Regions from separate parts of the Homo sapiens genome. Here region 2 is linked to region 1. The links are contacts of gene promoters, found by promoter capture Hi-C in blood cells and fetal thymus (Javierre and others, 2016). All regions are on one chromosome and are shown on one strand. Each heading gives the region's core, a stretch centred on a gene start or on the middle of the fragment in contact. The rest is flanking DNA. Distances are from core to core; before and after follow the strand shown.

Region 1 (7,797 bases), core at 2,165-4,664:
CCATGACAGAAAAAAAAATGGTTAAATAAAGTGCATGAGGCCACCAATTCAAATTCAGGTCATCTGGCTCCAGCCTTCATGCTCTTAATACACCACTTGTAAACACAGACATTGAGACTTGAAATGTTAAGAAAGCATAAAAACAACACTGTTTCAATAAACAAGAGCATACAGTCACGTATCTGCCACCACAGTCAATCAGCCTTCATTTTTTCATTCTAAAATTGGTATGTTTAATGTACTTAAAATGAAGGAGGCAGCAGATTTACAATTGCTCCTTAGTGTGAGGTTGTTAAAAAAAAAAAAAAAAAAGGCCAGGCACGGTGGCTCACACCTGTAATCCCAGCACTTTGGGAGGCCAAGGCGGGCAGATCACTTGAGGTCAGGAGTTCGAGACCGGCCTGGCCAACATGGCGAAACCCCGTCTCTACTAAATATACAAAAATTAGCCAGGCGTGGTGGCGTGCACCTGTAGTCCCAGCCTCTCAGGAAGCTGAGGTGGGAGAATCACTTGAACCCGGGAGGTGGAGGTTGCAGTGAGCCGAGACTGTGCCACCGCACTCCAGCCTTGGGGACATAGCAAGACTCTGTCTTTAAAAAAAAAAAAAAAAAAAAAAAAACACCACTTGTACTCTCTAGCCTCTTAAGTCTAATAAATCTGTGTATGCACAACAGTTCTTGATATTGCCTTCATCAGTTTAAACAATGAAGTGTCAAATTCCTAAGTTACAAATACCAAGTAGGAACTGGAGATAACAAGATTTATAAAATATGATACATTCCCAAAAAGGCAACGAGGGCCACTGCAAGTCAGTTTAATAACATAATTAACCGCCAAAAGTCAGAACAGGTAAGGTATATTCTGGCAACAATAAGATTAGTATAATTAGATTGTAGGTTTATGGTGTGCAATGGCAGAGGATGATGCTGATGAACTAGGATGAAGCAAACTGTAAAGGGCCAACAATTGAAATGTGTCCTTTAGGTCAGCAATTCTATGACTGCACATCAGGAAAGAAAAGGAAGAAAGAAAAATAAAAAAACACCAATAATCAGTATGACCAGTACTCCATCCCCAGACCAATCAAACCAGAATTTCTGTACCAGGCACAGTAGTTCACCCCCGTAACCCCAGCTCTTTGAGAGGCTGAGGCATGGAGGCCAAGAGTTTAAGACAGCCTGGACAACATAGCTAGATACTGTCTGTATAGTAAAAAGTATTAAAAAATATTTTTAAATGTAGTAAAAAGTATAAAATATAAATATATAGTAAAAAAGTAAAAAAAAAAAAAAGTTTTAAAAATCCGAATTTCTGGGACTCATACCATTTGAATATTTGAAAAGCTCTCCAGATATTCTAATGTACATCAAAGGTCATGAACTACTAAAATGGCAAAGGGAAGACAGGAAGATCATTAGTAGAGAAGTGACATGATCAAGTATGTTTTTAGGAAGACAACTGGCAACAATATGGAAAATGAATAGGAGGAAAAGAAACTACTGAAAGTTAAAAATGATCCTGAACTAAGGCAGCCACAGTTACTACATGAAGGAACATTGGAGTCAGGAGACATCCCGCTGGCAGAATCAAAAAAGATGATGATAATCTAGATATAAGGGAAAATCAAGAATGCTTTAGATTTCAACCTTTAAAAACTTAGGAAATGACGAGCAGCTGAGTTTTGTTTTTTTGTTGTTTTTTTGTTTGTTTGTTTTTGACACAATGAGTTTTAATGATGCCTAAAGCCAGTTAACAAAAACCGGGATTGAAATAAAAACCTAGGGCCATCAATGTAGGATATCACTAAGGAGTACACACAGAGCAGCATTCGTAAAGGAGATCAACATTCATTATCTGGTGCGTTTGTTAATGCAGATTCCTGAGTCTCAATCAAAATATACGGAATAAGTCATTTAGGCCTCTGAAAATTTTGAGAACCACTGAAGACAAAGAAGCACACAGGACCACGATGGACCACGATGGAATTTTGGTGGGATCAAACATGCGTTCTGTATGGCAGCCAGTGAGTCAGAATTTTATGAATATCTGACACTGAAGTTTTTGATTATTTCAGGACACAAGCTACAGAGAACACCAAAGTTAGCCATCTTGGCTACACTTACGCTGTGAAATCTGCAGCTGCTGTAGCTGCTTTGGTGGCATCCTTATTCAGTGTTGCACCCCAAACAGCACCTTTATGACCCAAAAATGTTCCAATCCAGTCTCCTGTATCTCCCTGGCGTAGCATAGGTTTACCATCTAGAAAATATTTTTTAAAACATGTAATTTATAAGTTCAGATTACTTAAAGTCTAAGATTCAAATGTAAATATACAATGATGTTCAATGACAAAGTGGAAAAATTGTTTCAGCTATTTAACTACCACCACCCACTGAAGGCACTAAGGAATGTGCAGTAATAAATTAACTGAAGAGCTGAACAGATCATTCTCTCTGAAAAGCATCTGTAATTGGCTGGGAATACTGATCTGCGTCAAAACAATCTAGATTTTAGTCTTATTTTGGACAGACATCTTAGCCTGAATCTCAGTTTCCCATTTGAAAAATGAGGCTAATACCACAAAGGAATATCCAGTGAGACAAGAGCGAACGTCTTTGTAAGGTATTGCACGGCCTGGCCTAATTTCTCCTTTCCCCAAATCCTTGAAAGCTATTTACCGTGTTGTCCCGAGAGTCTAGGCAAATGCTGACCAGCTCCTTCAAAAATAGCAATAAAAATAAAATAAGGAGAGAGGTCTTAGTTGGAGGTAATAGTTTCTACAAAAGCGTCCTCTCGGCTCCAGCTGCGGATTCCCTAACACACTCCTTTCTCCACCGGACCAGTGTTGGCTCTCATCTCAGATGTTAATATCGCCCCCTCCCCCCTCACCACACCACCGCTTCGGCACTGGAGCGTGCGGGTCCCGATCCCTTTCAGCCCAGTCCCAGCCGTCGAGGACCAGGATTGCGGCCTTGCTCACCTTTGCAAGCGCTGATTAAGAAATACCCATAAGGCGTGATGCCACTGAAGGCCAAATCAACCACGGGTCGCGTGTGGCCAGAGCAGGTGAGCGGCGTCTGTCTCATTGCCATGGCGGCGGCGAAGCCAGCGACCGGACTGGCGAGCTGAGGGTCGTCGTTGTCTTTTCTCTCTTCTGCTGCAGTGCCTCGGGCTGCTCCAGGCCCCCGCCCTGACACTAGGGCTGGGCTGGGCAACAGGAAAAGAAGGGCAATCCGGTGGCACCGAGGTTAGGGAGGGGTGAGGGAGGGGTCAGGGAGTCTGCGACCAGCAAGCAACAGTCGACGAGGGAGGGAAAGGGAGGGAGGGAGGAAAGTAGGGGATGGGGAGAAGCGGAGAACCGGGCCAGCCACGATTCACAGCGTCCACACCGGCATCGGCAGGAAGTGACGACGTAAATGACGCAGAGCACCCGCCGGAAATGACGATTGGCGGGAGGGCGGGCTCGCCGGGTAGAAGTGACTTGAAGAAAGAGCGAGAAGTATAGAAGGGCGCAGGCGCTAGTTCAGTGCTCGTGAGGTAACTGGCGCTGGCCCACGCCGACTAAGGGAGACGCTCTAGGCACCGGGATGGGGTCCCTGTCCCCGAGCTCTAGCGGGTCAGAACGCCTTCCTGGTCCGCGGCCGAGTTGAAAGTTGTTCCCACTCCCATAAGTCCAAGGACCAGCGTCAGCTGTGTACCTGCCGAGCAGCCCTACTGAGGACTGTGCTCGGCCTCTGAATATCTAGACGGACACGAGCCATACCCAGTGACGGCCCAAACCAGCGAACGCTGTCTGGCAACGTTTTTTGCAATTTGTCTTATTTAAAAACCATATACGGGCTTGGAGTGGTGGTGCCTGTGGTCCCACCTACTTGGAAGGCTGAGGTGGGAGGATAACTCGAGCCCGAGAGGTCGACACCGCAGTAAGCGGTGCTCGCGCCACCGCACTCCAGCCTGGGCAACAGAGCGAGACCATGTATTAAAAAAAAAAAAAAAATCCCCAGTCATTTCTTCCGCTGTGTAAGTTTTCCTATGTTGCTAATGTTTTAGGAGTGGATACTATATAGTTTTAAATGCGATTAAATTCAAGTTACTTTTTCCTTGGTGGACTTCGGAGAACTCTAGAGTCGTAGATCCCCAATTTTTTTGATGAAATACTCTCATCCGTAAAGTGAGCCTTCACTCATTTTATAAGCGAATGAATGCTGAATTCTATCAAAAACTTTTACACCTTTTGATATGATGTATATATGAGTGATGATTTGCAAATTACATAGATGTGCATTATAATACATGGACAAAAATAGAAATATTAAAATAATATTTAAATATAAACAAACTCTGATATTGTCTGCAGCAGGCAGCCCACTGTGGCTCTGTGAAACCACCAGAGCTGTTAATTGTTGATACTGTTTCCTAACCAGGAGAGGGCTTTTCTCTGGGCAAGTTGTATCTTTATTGATAGAATGTAAACCCAATACAACAGAGATTTTTGTGTTTTCTTTGCTACTTTATCCCCAAGGTCAAAACGTCTGGGCACATAGCAATAAATATGTAATCAACATAAATGTCTGTGAATGTTTTCTTCATCTTTTTGCAGCAAACACCGTCTACAAGATTCGAGTCAAACAACGTGAGAACTTGAAATACGTCTCCATTCTTTTTCCTTAGTACTCTCGTTCATTCACTTACGGTAAAGCACTTACTATATATGTTTTTCATTTTATCTTGTTCGACTCCTCCTTTGTGCCATCCTCTCCCTTTTGTCTCACACATACGCACCACTCACACATTTATGAACTCCTTAATGGCAATGGTTATGGCTTTGTCATTTGTACTCTAGTGCCAGAAAAGTGAATGGCATTTAGTGAATACTCAGCATGACTGTTTACTGATTAAATAGATTGTTGCATTACTGATGGAGGTAAATAAAAGACCCACTCAAAATGACACAACTGGTCAGATACTGATACATGTTCATTTATTGCTCATTGTGTGTAGATAAGAATATAATTGGTAAGTTATGGTACATACTTGGCTCTAAAGAATGTATTATTTCCTGCTCATTTGGATTCTGAGTTCTAAGAGTATTGTGTATTATGACCAATTGGGTAGGCTTCAAGGTCAATTTAATATTAGAAGACAGGTTAATGTAATTGATATAATTAACAATATTAAAAGATTAAAGAAAATCATATCAAAAGATGTGTAAGAAGTTTTTGATAGAATTCAGCATTCTTTCACTTATAAGAATTCTGAGACACTAGAAATAGAAGGGACTTTTTTAACCTCATAGAATATCTGAAACCCCACACCTAATGGTGAAATACAGAAAGCATTCTGTATTAGATTAGGTACGAGACAGATGATTGCTACTGCCTCTTCAATACAGCATCGTACTAGATGTTCAGGTAACTTAAAAATGCATAAATCTTCCAAAGAAAGTTGTAAATCTGTGATTAGAAATTGTTTTAGAGGTTATATACAAAGAAAAGAGGCAAGGTGTGGTGGCTCATGCCTGTAATTCCAGTTCCCAGTACTTTGGGTGGCTGAGATGGGAGGATCACTCCAGCCCAGGAGTTCAAGACCAGTCTGGGCAACAAAGTGAGACCCAGGCTCTACAAAAAAATAAAAAAATTAGCCAGGCATGGTGGTACACTACTGTGATCCCAGCTACACGGGACACTGAGGCAGGAGGATCGCTTGAGCCCAGAAGTTCATGGCTGCAATAAGCCCAATTTCTGCCACTGCACTGCAGCCTGGACAATGAGGTAAGACCATGTCTCAAAAGAAAAAAATAAAAATAAAAATTATTGGAATTAATGAGAGAATTTAGAAAGGTTACTGAAGTTGTTTTTTTCTTTTTTTAGAAGAGATGAAGTCTCACTATGTTACCCAGGCTGGGTGCGATGCCTAGGTTACTGGGTTTTGTTGTTGTTGTTGTTGTTGTTTTAAGTGTAATGAAGAAATCACATTTCTATACATTAGCAACAACAAAAAATGTAATTTTAAAATATGCCATGTTAAATAGCATCAAGAATTATAAAGTACATAGGAATAAAAAAACAAAGTGTACTCCCCAGCAGAAAAAAAACTGGCACGCTGAAATGTAGAAGTTGAGAGCAGTGTAATGAAGGGATTAGTTACAGAAGTGTGGCCAGGATCAAAAGTAAACAACAAGGAGAAAATAGGGCACTAACCATAGATCTGAATGAGAAACTGAAAGGGAGCAGTTATCTGAACCTGATTTATTTGAGAAAGGTACGGTTGCAGGAGAAGGCTCTGGGCGAGAGCTGGAATAATCAGTAGAAGAACACAACTGCTCCCAATTATCATCAGCACAGCCATGGGGAAGAAGTGGGGAAATGAATATCTACTTTTAGATCTCCCATGCTTCCCATTGGTCAAACCCAGCCAGAGCCCAGAAGACAAGGGAGCCCTTTAATGGGGTCCATAAATGTCAACCTTCTAGGACTTAAACCATAGTACAAAAAGGAGAAAAGGGGATCTCGTTAAATAAAGGAATACCCAACATGATGTTCAATATTATTTAATGCCTCTCAGCAAAATGTATCGTTCTCTATTAAAGGCATTAAATAATATTAAAATAAATGGAAAATGGATATATTGTGTTTGTGGGTTGGCAGGTTCAATTTTGGGAAAATATCAGTGCTCTCCTGTTATGGACTGAATTGGGTTCCCCTCCTCCAAATTCCTATGTTAAAGTCCTAATCCTCACTATCTCAGAATGTGACTGTATTTGGATAAGTAAGGTAAAATTAGGTCATATGGGTGGGCCTTAATCCAATGCAACAGTTATCTTTATTGAGAAGAGGAGATGAGGACACAGACAACACAAAGGAATGACCAGATGAGGACAGAGTGAGAAGGTGGCCATCTGCAAGTCATGGGGAAAGGCCTCAGAGAAGAAAGGAAATTTACAGACCTTAGTCTTGGACTTCTAGCCTCTAGAACTGTGAGAAAATAAATTTCCATTGTTTAAGCCACCAACATCTGTTATGGCAGACCTAGAAAACAAATACATCTCCAAAATGATTTACAGTTTCAATACAATTGCAAATAAAAGTTCCAGTTTTTGGGGGGGAGGGGCAATGACGTTTTTAAAATTATTATTTTTATTTTTCCATAAGTTATTGGGGTACAGTTAGTATTTGGTTACATGAGTAAGTTCTTTAGTGGTGATTTGTGAGACTTTGGTGCACATATCACCTAAGCAGTATACACTGCACCATATGTGTAGTCTTTTAATCCCTCGTCCCCCCTCCCACTCCTCCCTCCAAGTCCCCAAAGTCCATTGTATCATTCTTATGCCTTTGCGTCCTCATAGCTTAGCTCTCACTTATCAGTGAGAACATACGATGTTTCGTTTTCCATTCCTGAGTTACTTCACTTAGAATAATAGTCTCCGATCTCATCCAGGTCACTGCAAATGCTGTTAATTTATTTCTTTTATGGCTGTATAGTATTCCATTGTATATAAATATACCACAGTTTCTTCATCCACTCGTTGATCGATGGGCATTTCGGTTGGTTTCACTGTTTTGCAATTGTGCTGCTATGAACATGCATGTGCAAGTATCTTTTTCGATTAATAACTTCTTTACCCCTGGGTAGATACCCAGTAGTGGGATTACTGGATCCAATGGTAGTTCTACTTTTAGTTCTTTAAGGAATCTCCACACTGTTTTCCATAGTGGTTGTACTAGTTTACATTCCCACCAGTAGTGTAGAAGTACTCCCTGTTCACTGCATCCATGCCAACATATACTGTTTTT
Region 2 (7,797 bases), core at 1,437-3,936, 600 kb after region 1:
TTTTCCCCCCATTTCAAGTAGGATGGTAAATCTGTTTTCCATTAGTCCATTTTTGGAAGAAGTGGAAGTTTCTCATTTCTGTTCATTTTAGAAATTGATTGTAATGGCTATCATATCTTTTAAAATATCCTCAAATATTTAGAGAACTAAATAAATGAAGTACAGAGTTGTCTATGCTTATTGTATTATGATACTGATTTTTATATTCCACCCATCAATTACACAAAGGTTTTCGTTAAAATTCAGTTATTGTATTTCTATTTTCCCTGATGTTGATCACTCTTGAAAATAAGTAGTAATATGTTGTATTTCTATTTTTAAAAATATTCAAAATCCATCAAAACTATTTGGGATATTTTTGATATAGGTTAAATAATAAATTTATGGCTGTATTTTTAAGCATGCAGATATGAGAGTTTTCGTAAGTGACATGATTTTCAGCAACAAAATCACATAGTGATCCAAACATTAGCTGATAGCAGTTCTCAAATATATTTTGCATGACAAGTCCCTTTAAAAACAGGTAGGTTCTGATTTGCATTTCTCTGATGGCCAGTGATGATGAGCATTTTTTCATGTGTTTTTTGGCTGCATAAATGTCTTCTTTTGAGAAGTGTCTGTTCATGTCCTTCACCCACTTTTTGATGGGGTTGTTTGTTTTTTTCTTGTAAATTTGTTTGAGTTCATTGTAGATTCTGGATATTAGCCCTTTGTCAGATGAGTAGGTTGCGAAAATTTTCTCCCAATTTGCAGGTTGCCTGTTCACTCTGATGGTAGTTTCTTTTGCTGTGCAGAAGCTCTTTAGTTTAATTAGATCCCATTTGTCAGTTTTGTCTTTTGTTGCCATTGCTTTTGGTGTTTTGGACATGAAGTCCTTGCCCATGCCTATGTCCTGAATGGTAATGCCTAGGTTTTCTTCTAGGGTTTTTATGGTTTTAGGTCTAACGTTTAAATCTTTAATCCATCTTGAATTGATTTTTGTATAAGGTGTAAGGAAGGGATCCAGTTTCAGCTTTCTACATACCATCTCACACCAGTTAGAATGGCAATCATTAAAAAAGTCAGGAAACAACAGGTGCTGGAGAGGATGTGGAGAAATAGGAACACTTTTACACTGTTGGTGGGACTGTAAACTAGTTCAACCATTGTGGAAGTCAGTGTGGCGATTCCTCAGGGATCTAGAACTAGAAATACCATTTGACCCAGCCATCCCATTACTGGGTATATACCCAAATGACTATAAATCATGCTGCTATAAAGACACATGCACACGTATGTTTGTTGCGGCATTATTCACAATAGCAAAGACTTGGAACCAACCCAGATGTCCAACAATGATAGACTGGATTAAGAAAATGTGGCACATATACACCATGGAATACTATGCAGCCATAAAAAATGATGAGTTCATGTCCTTTGTAGGGACATGGATGAAATTGGAAATCATCGTTCTCAGTAAACTATCGCAAGAACAAAAAACCAAACACTGCATATTCTCACTCATAGGTGGGAATTGAACAATGAGATCACATGGACACAGGAAGGGGAATATCACACTCTGGGGACTGTGGTGGGGTGGGGGGAGGGGGGAGGGATAGCATTGGGAGATATACCTAATGCTAGATGACGAGTTAGTGGGTGCAGCGCACCAGCATGGCACATGTATACATATGTAACTAACCTGCACAATGTGCACATGTACCCTAAAACTTAAAGTATAATAAAAAAAAAACAAAAAAAAAACAGGTAGGTTCTCACTCTTTGTTAAAAAAAACTCACCTTTACCTTGAAGGAATAGATTATATATTTATTTTGAGAAATATATCTTCTGGGTAGCACATTACTGAAAATCACTAGTTCTCCCTGAACAGGTCAGCAAATTGGGCTTAATGCAGCTTGAAACATCACTGGAAAAAAATTGTAAATGTTTGTGTGCGTTCTCTGGATGCTCAGATCCCAAACGTCTCACTAATCATGATGGCTCCACATTATCATTTGCAAACATTTCAAAGCAGCAAACACACCTAGCATGAGATTCAAACAGCCTGGATAATTTCAAATCATTTTGGCTTACTTCCTGTCTTATCTAATTACATCCTCATTGTTTTCAACCTTTTGATGTGCTTATAAAGAGATCAAATTAGAAATGGAAGTTTCTGCCAATTTTTCTTTGTCTGTGAATTATTGGTATTATGTTTAGTCCATGTTTTTTGCAAGATGGCATGAAGTCTATGGCATGAAGCCAGCACTGACCCCTCCTCTATACTTAGAATTTCTGCCTTTCTCCCAGCATGCCTTGGTGACCATATGTGACACTTGCTTCTTTTCCATATGAATACATTAGGACACCAGTATAAATCCATATATGATGTGTTAGAAAAGCTTACTTTCTTATTTTTTAAATTTAAAATATATAATTAAAAGTTCTTATATTTTGGTCCACATTCCACCATGGAGAGAGGATTGGCTTGGCTTTAAGGTATAATGTCTCTTGTTGATACACTCAGCTAAATTAGAGAGCTACAAGAAAGGACAGAATTAGACTCCTAAGGCTATAGCTATTGAGTAATGGAAGCAGACAGATCACTCAGGCAACTACTGTCACAATAACGAGCCTTTAAGAAGAAAACCTTCTGAGAATGAAGGGACATATAGGGATTGCACTTAAAAAAATTAAACTCATGTAACTACTACTGGAATATATAACCAAATCTCTTGTAAAAGAAAACTCCTTGCCAGTTAAAGAATAAGACCAAATTGATGTACTTTCCTGCATCAGAGAAATCCTATACCCAGTACCAGGAAATTCTATGCACAGATATATTAATCGATACATTAATGGAGCTGAAGTTCTGCTGTCAGCAGATCTTGTCATTCAATGAAGCATGTCCAGGTGGATAAAAACATGAAGAATTACTTTCTAAAGAACAGGTTTTAGTTTTGGAAAGAATTTTATGACAGTTAAGTAGGTTTTTTTAATACCAAGCTTGCACTCATTTCCCTGATTTAGAGGTGCAATGTTTCTGTAGTGTCTAATTTTAAACTTGTCCTGTCAGGTTTGAAATGTATGATTTTGGCAACCTTTGCAACTGTGCAAAGCATGTATTTCAAGATACTGTGGTCTTTAGGCTTCTACTTCCTCAGTACTAGATTGTTCCCAAAAGAATGTATGAAGGATGAATGGATCAGAAAAGACATTACGCTGGAGATGAGAATCAAAATCCTGACTCTAAAGTATTTTGTTGACAGTTGGCTTTTTACCTTCCACATTGAAATACTCTTTGTGAGGGTCATGCGGTTTAACTCATTGCTACAACTTGGAGGAAAATGTGCAATGTCAAGCATTCCTGTATGGTCCAAAACCTGCCATAATGGCTGCCAATGGCTCTTCCTTTTCTGAAAGGAGTATCTGAGTTTCATGATGTCAGATAATCATCCTTGCAATAGGAAATTCAAGTTTCTGGAAGCTCCTCTTTCCTTGCAAGTCACTGTCAATTCAATCATTGAGTAAAGTGTTCCTGTGTGACAGGAGCAGATTAGCAGATGATCCCAGAAAAATCTAAGCACTGAAGATAGAATGCTAAGGATTTTTTAATTATTTCTTTATTTTAAAAAATTGATACTTCTTTCCTCTTTTTACGTCATGTTTCACTCATCCCCCTTAGAACTATTGGCAAGATCATGGGCTAAGAGAAAATTTAAAAGTATTTATTGAATTTAGAAACATCAGCAAGAATTTATTCTACCTTCAATATGAGATAGCTCTGTAGCAGTACTATAAAGTAGAATAACAGATTTTACAAACCATGCTTTTCATTTTATGATGTTTTTAAAGATGTGGTTCATGTACATATAATTCATGGTGAAAGATGGAATAATTTTAAGTTATACATAGATTAATGCCCATATGTAAATGTATATACACACATTATTTCACTGTGTAATTGGTAAATCTCATTAGTGCCTCAAAATCAGGGTTGCAGAATTATGATTTTTTTAGGGTAAGGCTAGTTTTTTGAAAAAGGAGTTAGTTTGAAAACTACTTACAAACAACTGTTAGGTAAATAGCTGTATAAGCAATATGCAAATATGGGAAAATAATGTAGGCAGTGTGTATGAATAGCTGAGATTGGGGAAACTGCATTGTATTGCTCTGGTGGCGTGTGTTTACTATAAGGTCTTTGCTGACAAGGATTTTACATGCTGTTTTAGGCCAGGGTTCTGAGAAGCAGAGCCTGAGGCAGGGATTTTTGTCCAGGTGAATTACTGAGGGAACACTTTCAGGACAAAGCTATAGGGGAGGAAGGGAAGCAAGATAGGGCAAGATAAGCTAGGTAAATCAAGGTTTTAGGAGAATATTAGCTTCAGACTGATCCCCCAAGGAATTTTGATGTTTAAATGCAATAAAAAGTTTGCGTTGCCCATGGGTGAGGTGGCTGAACTGTTGTAACCTCACTTCAGTCTGCCACAGGCCATAGGACACTTGTGGGATTAGTACAATTTTTCCAGTCATGTCCTGGTAAGGTGGCAATCCTCTGGAACAGTCACAGCGACTGGTTGATGAGTGCACTGGCCTGGTAAGGGAATCTGGACAGGACACCAGGAGTGTCTGCAATGCAATTTTAGGAGAAAAAAAATACTCAAAAGAATAGTAAACACCCCAAATACACTGAGATCGCCAACTGTTAGCTCTTAATTCAGGAGGACTTTGGAGCCAACTAGCAACAATGATATGTCATTTGTGGGAATTCCTGGCAGCAATCCTTAGGGTCATCTTAACCCTCTCCATGATGTTTTCACGTTTTCTATGCCAGCCTTCCTGGGCCTGATGCATCAGGTGACATTCACTGTGTAGTAACCTGCTGGAGGTCGGAGACTGGCCTTATCTGATGGATACCTGCCCTGGGTGTTCCATGTATGTGGTCCTACTAGCTTTATGCACTCTCAATTCCATAGAGCCATCACAAAAAAGAAATATTTCCTCTTCCTTAGATAGTATATCAGACAGAGATTAAATGTACATAATCAGTTAGTTGTGGCAGGCACTTAGAGGAGAGAAAGATTAGGTTTCAATTTGTGGGAGACATGGCTTCCGGCAATGGCTGGCCCACTACAGGGCATGCCAATTCATTGCAGTTGACCACATATTTCCGCCTAATATCTTGTGAACACAAACCGGATGCATCTGATTAAGTGCTCCCAGCTCTGGCTGTAATAAGTGGCTCGCTGGCAGTGTGCCTCCTTCCAGCTATTCTGGGAGCTGGGCTTGGAGCTGCTGAGATTTGGCATGCGCACCTCAGAGGCTTCCTCAGCTGGGCCAGGTGCCTGGCAGCACTCCTCTTCATTATTTTATTCTGTCTCCTTGTAGCTTCTCCCCACAACCCCACTTTTCCCTCTAAGCCATGCCTTGCTCAGCAGACCTTGCCTCGCTTTGTTCCCCATGGACTCTACATATCTTCTTTTGGCCTGGCTGCCTGATTTGGAGCAGTGCAGAGAGCCCCAAGCCAGGATCAGCTGGAGCGCCACTTGCAGTGAGCACGTTTATTAAATTTGGTCAACGACAGCCAGTTCAGGTCCCTGGCAAGCAAGCCTGTACAAAGTATTTCCTGTTGGAGATGATGATAGATGGTTTAGTGATTAACAACACAGACTCTAGAGCCAGACTCACGCATTTTGGCAATGTCACTTATTGGCTATGTTGCCTTGAGCAATTTACTGACTTTCCCATGACTCAGAAAGATCATCTATAAAATGGGAATAATAATAGTATCTCCTTCATAGGGTTGCTATGAGGATTAAATGAGTTGTTGCATATAAATGAGTATGAATAGGTCCTGGCACATAGAAAAATGCTGATGAAATATTAGCAACTTTTATTAGCATTATTTATATAGCTAATGTAATTTTTATTATTTAAGTATCTCACTTCTTCTAAGCAACTGAAGGTCTCTAATATTGTAGCTGAGGAATTCTCATTATAACTCTGTGTTATTATGTTCTATCTTGTCAATAACAAAATTGCAGCACAAAGAAATTGACCTTGTCTCACATTAAAGTACTAATTTTATTCAGTAATTTAAAAAAATGAGTTTGACTTATTTCTAATAAGTTGGAAAGATACACAAAATATATAATTGAGGAGCAACTGAAAATCAGAAAACAATATGCATGATATGATCATATGATTCCATTTCATGTTAAAAACATTTCTATATGTAATAATGTATGCGGTTATAGTCATATAGACATTATAATGTGGAGAAAATTATTAATCTTTATGATAACTGGCACAGAAATTATTTTTAGGAAGGGATCATCTTTGCTGAAAAGAAGCTTTGAAAAGACCCTTGTACATCAGAAAAGTGCCTCAGCCTGAGGGCTGAAGTTCAAGGGGAAGGAGGCAGAGGCTCAGTATTATAAAGGAGGGCAGTGGGCAGGTTCAAGGCTCGGTGCAGTGTTAGGGAAGGTCAAAGAGAAGCAAATTCCCAACTGGTGGTGGTGGTGAAGGAAGACTTAGAAAAGAATTGCCATAGGGTGAAGAAGACTTCAGCAAATTCTGCATCACTCCTAATGCTCTGTGGAGTGAATTTCCTTTGTGTAGAGTGTAGAAAAATGCTACCATCAGCTTCCAGGTTGGAAAGGGGAAAAGATGGGGTTCATCTGGAGATGGCCAGCATCTGAGTTACAGGTACAGGTACATGGACATGCATATATGAGGATATACACACACAGAGGCACAGACACACACACACATACACAGACACAGACACACACACACGGACACACACACACACGCATCAGTCAAAACTAGGAGACCACAACCCAGCCTGCTGTGTGGTTACATGAACAGGAGTATGGGATTGTACTGTGTAAAGAGGGTTCATAGTTTAAACTCTCTGTCTCTCTCTCTTTCTCCTTATCATGAGGAGCATGTATATATGTTTATATAAAAAGGCAAACAGTGTGTTTCCATGCCTCTTGGTGGAATGCAGCATAGGGCCTCTATCAATCTAGCTCAGGATTTCTGAGGCCAGGAATCCATCACCGTTGCCTTTACTGCAGGTATGAGTGCCGGGGAGGAGCTGGGCTTCTGGGATCAAAGTGTGTCTGTTTAGCTATTCAGCACGGAGGGCCCTGCTCTCCGTATATTTTTTGCTAACTTTCTTAAATGGTCCAACAGGGAAGAAGAACAACTGACATTATATAATGAACAATTCTATTCCAGGCACACTCCCTTATGTTTTCACCTTTATCATCCTTATTAGCTCCCCTAGTTAGTTATTGCAGGATCCATTTTACAGATGAAGGAATTGAAGCTTAGAAAGATTTAGCTAATCGCTCAAGGTCATACAACGAGCCAGTCCTGAAATCTCTGATGAAACTCAAGTACTTTTTGTTGTTGTTTCTAATTCCAGTCCCAACTTCCTCCCACCAAATGGGGTCCCAACCTTCCTACGAATAAATGTTCAACCCCCAACTCCCCAGGAGCACCCAGTTTCTAACTTTTTATCTGATCTCATGGCCCCCTATTACTCCTTGTTGATAACCCCTGCAGGGCGCCCTCTTCATTCTTCACATGGTTTGTAATTCTGCCAATTCCTTTTCCAATCGCTCTGTAGTTTTCTTTTGTTTTAGTCTAGTTATCATATGGAATTTTTCTTTTTCTCAGTCTTTTCAAGAAATGTTCTAATGGACTGGCTCTTTCAGGGTAGAATATTTTTTCCCCTTTTTCCATTCCTTGAGACACAATTGCTTAATAAATACCGGATGGACAAATGAATGAACGAATGAATGGAT

The links. Contacts are between HindIII fragments. The CHiCAGO score rates a contact against its expected background, and 5 or more counts as called.
Region 2: a fragment that was not itself captured here is called in contact with the fragment with the promoter of STRAP in region 1 in 9 of 17 cell types (non-activated CD4 T cells, naive CD4 T cells, total CD4 T cells and 6 more); the score reaches 8.2 in non-activated CD4 T cells.

The regions. Positions count from the first base shown.
Region 1 is chr12:15,878,004-15,885,800 of GRCh38, reverse strand. STRAP (serine/threonine kinase receptor associated protein) reads right to left here and starts at 3,414. Exons shown (of 10, transcript NM_007178.4): 1 at 2,982-3,414; 2 at 2,125-2,260. The coding sequence starts at 3,093. LOC102724146 (a long non-coding RNA gene) reads left to right here and starts at 3,503. Exons shown (of 6, transcript XR_007063230.1): 1 at 3,503-4,021; 2 at 4,602-4,694. RefSeq lists enhancers at 3,337-3,456, 3,767-3,996 and a silencer at 6,112-6,406. The HindIII fragment of the contact is 32,342 bases long and covers 1-7,797 here.
Region 2 is chr12:15,276,822-15,284,618 of GRCh38, reverse strand. All of the region lies in intron 2 of LOC105369673 (a long non-coding RNA gene), which reads left to right. Among named protein-coding and RNA genes, the nearest start is that of PTPRO, 42 kb to the left of the region's middle. The HindIII fragment of the contact is 604 bases long and covers 2,385-2,988 here.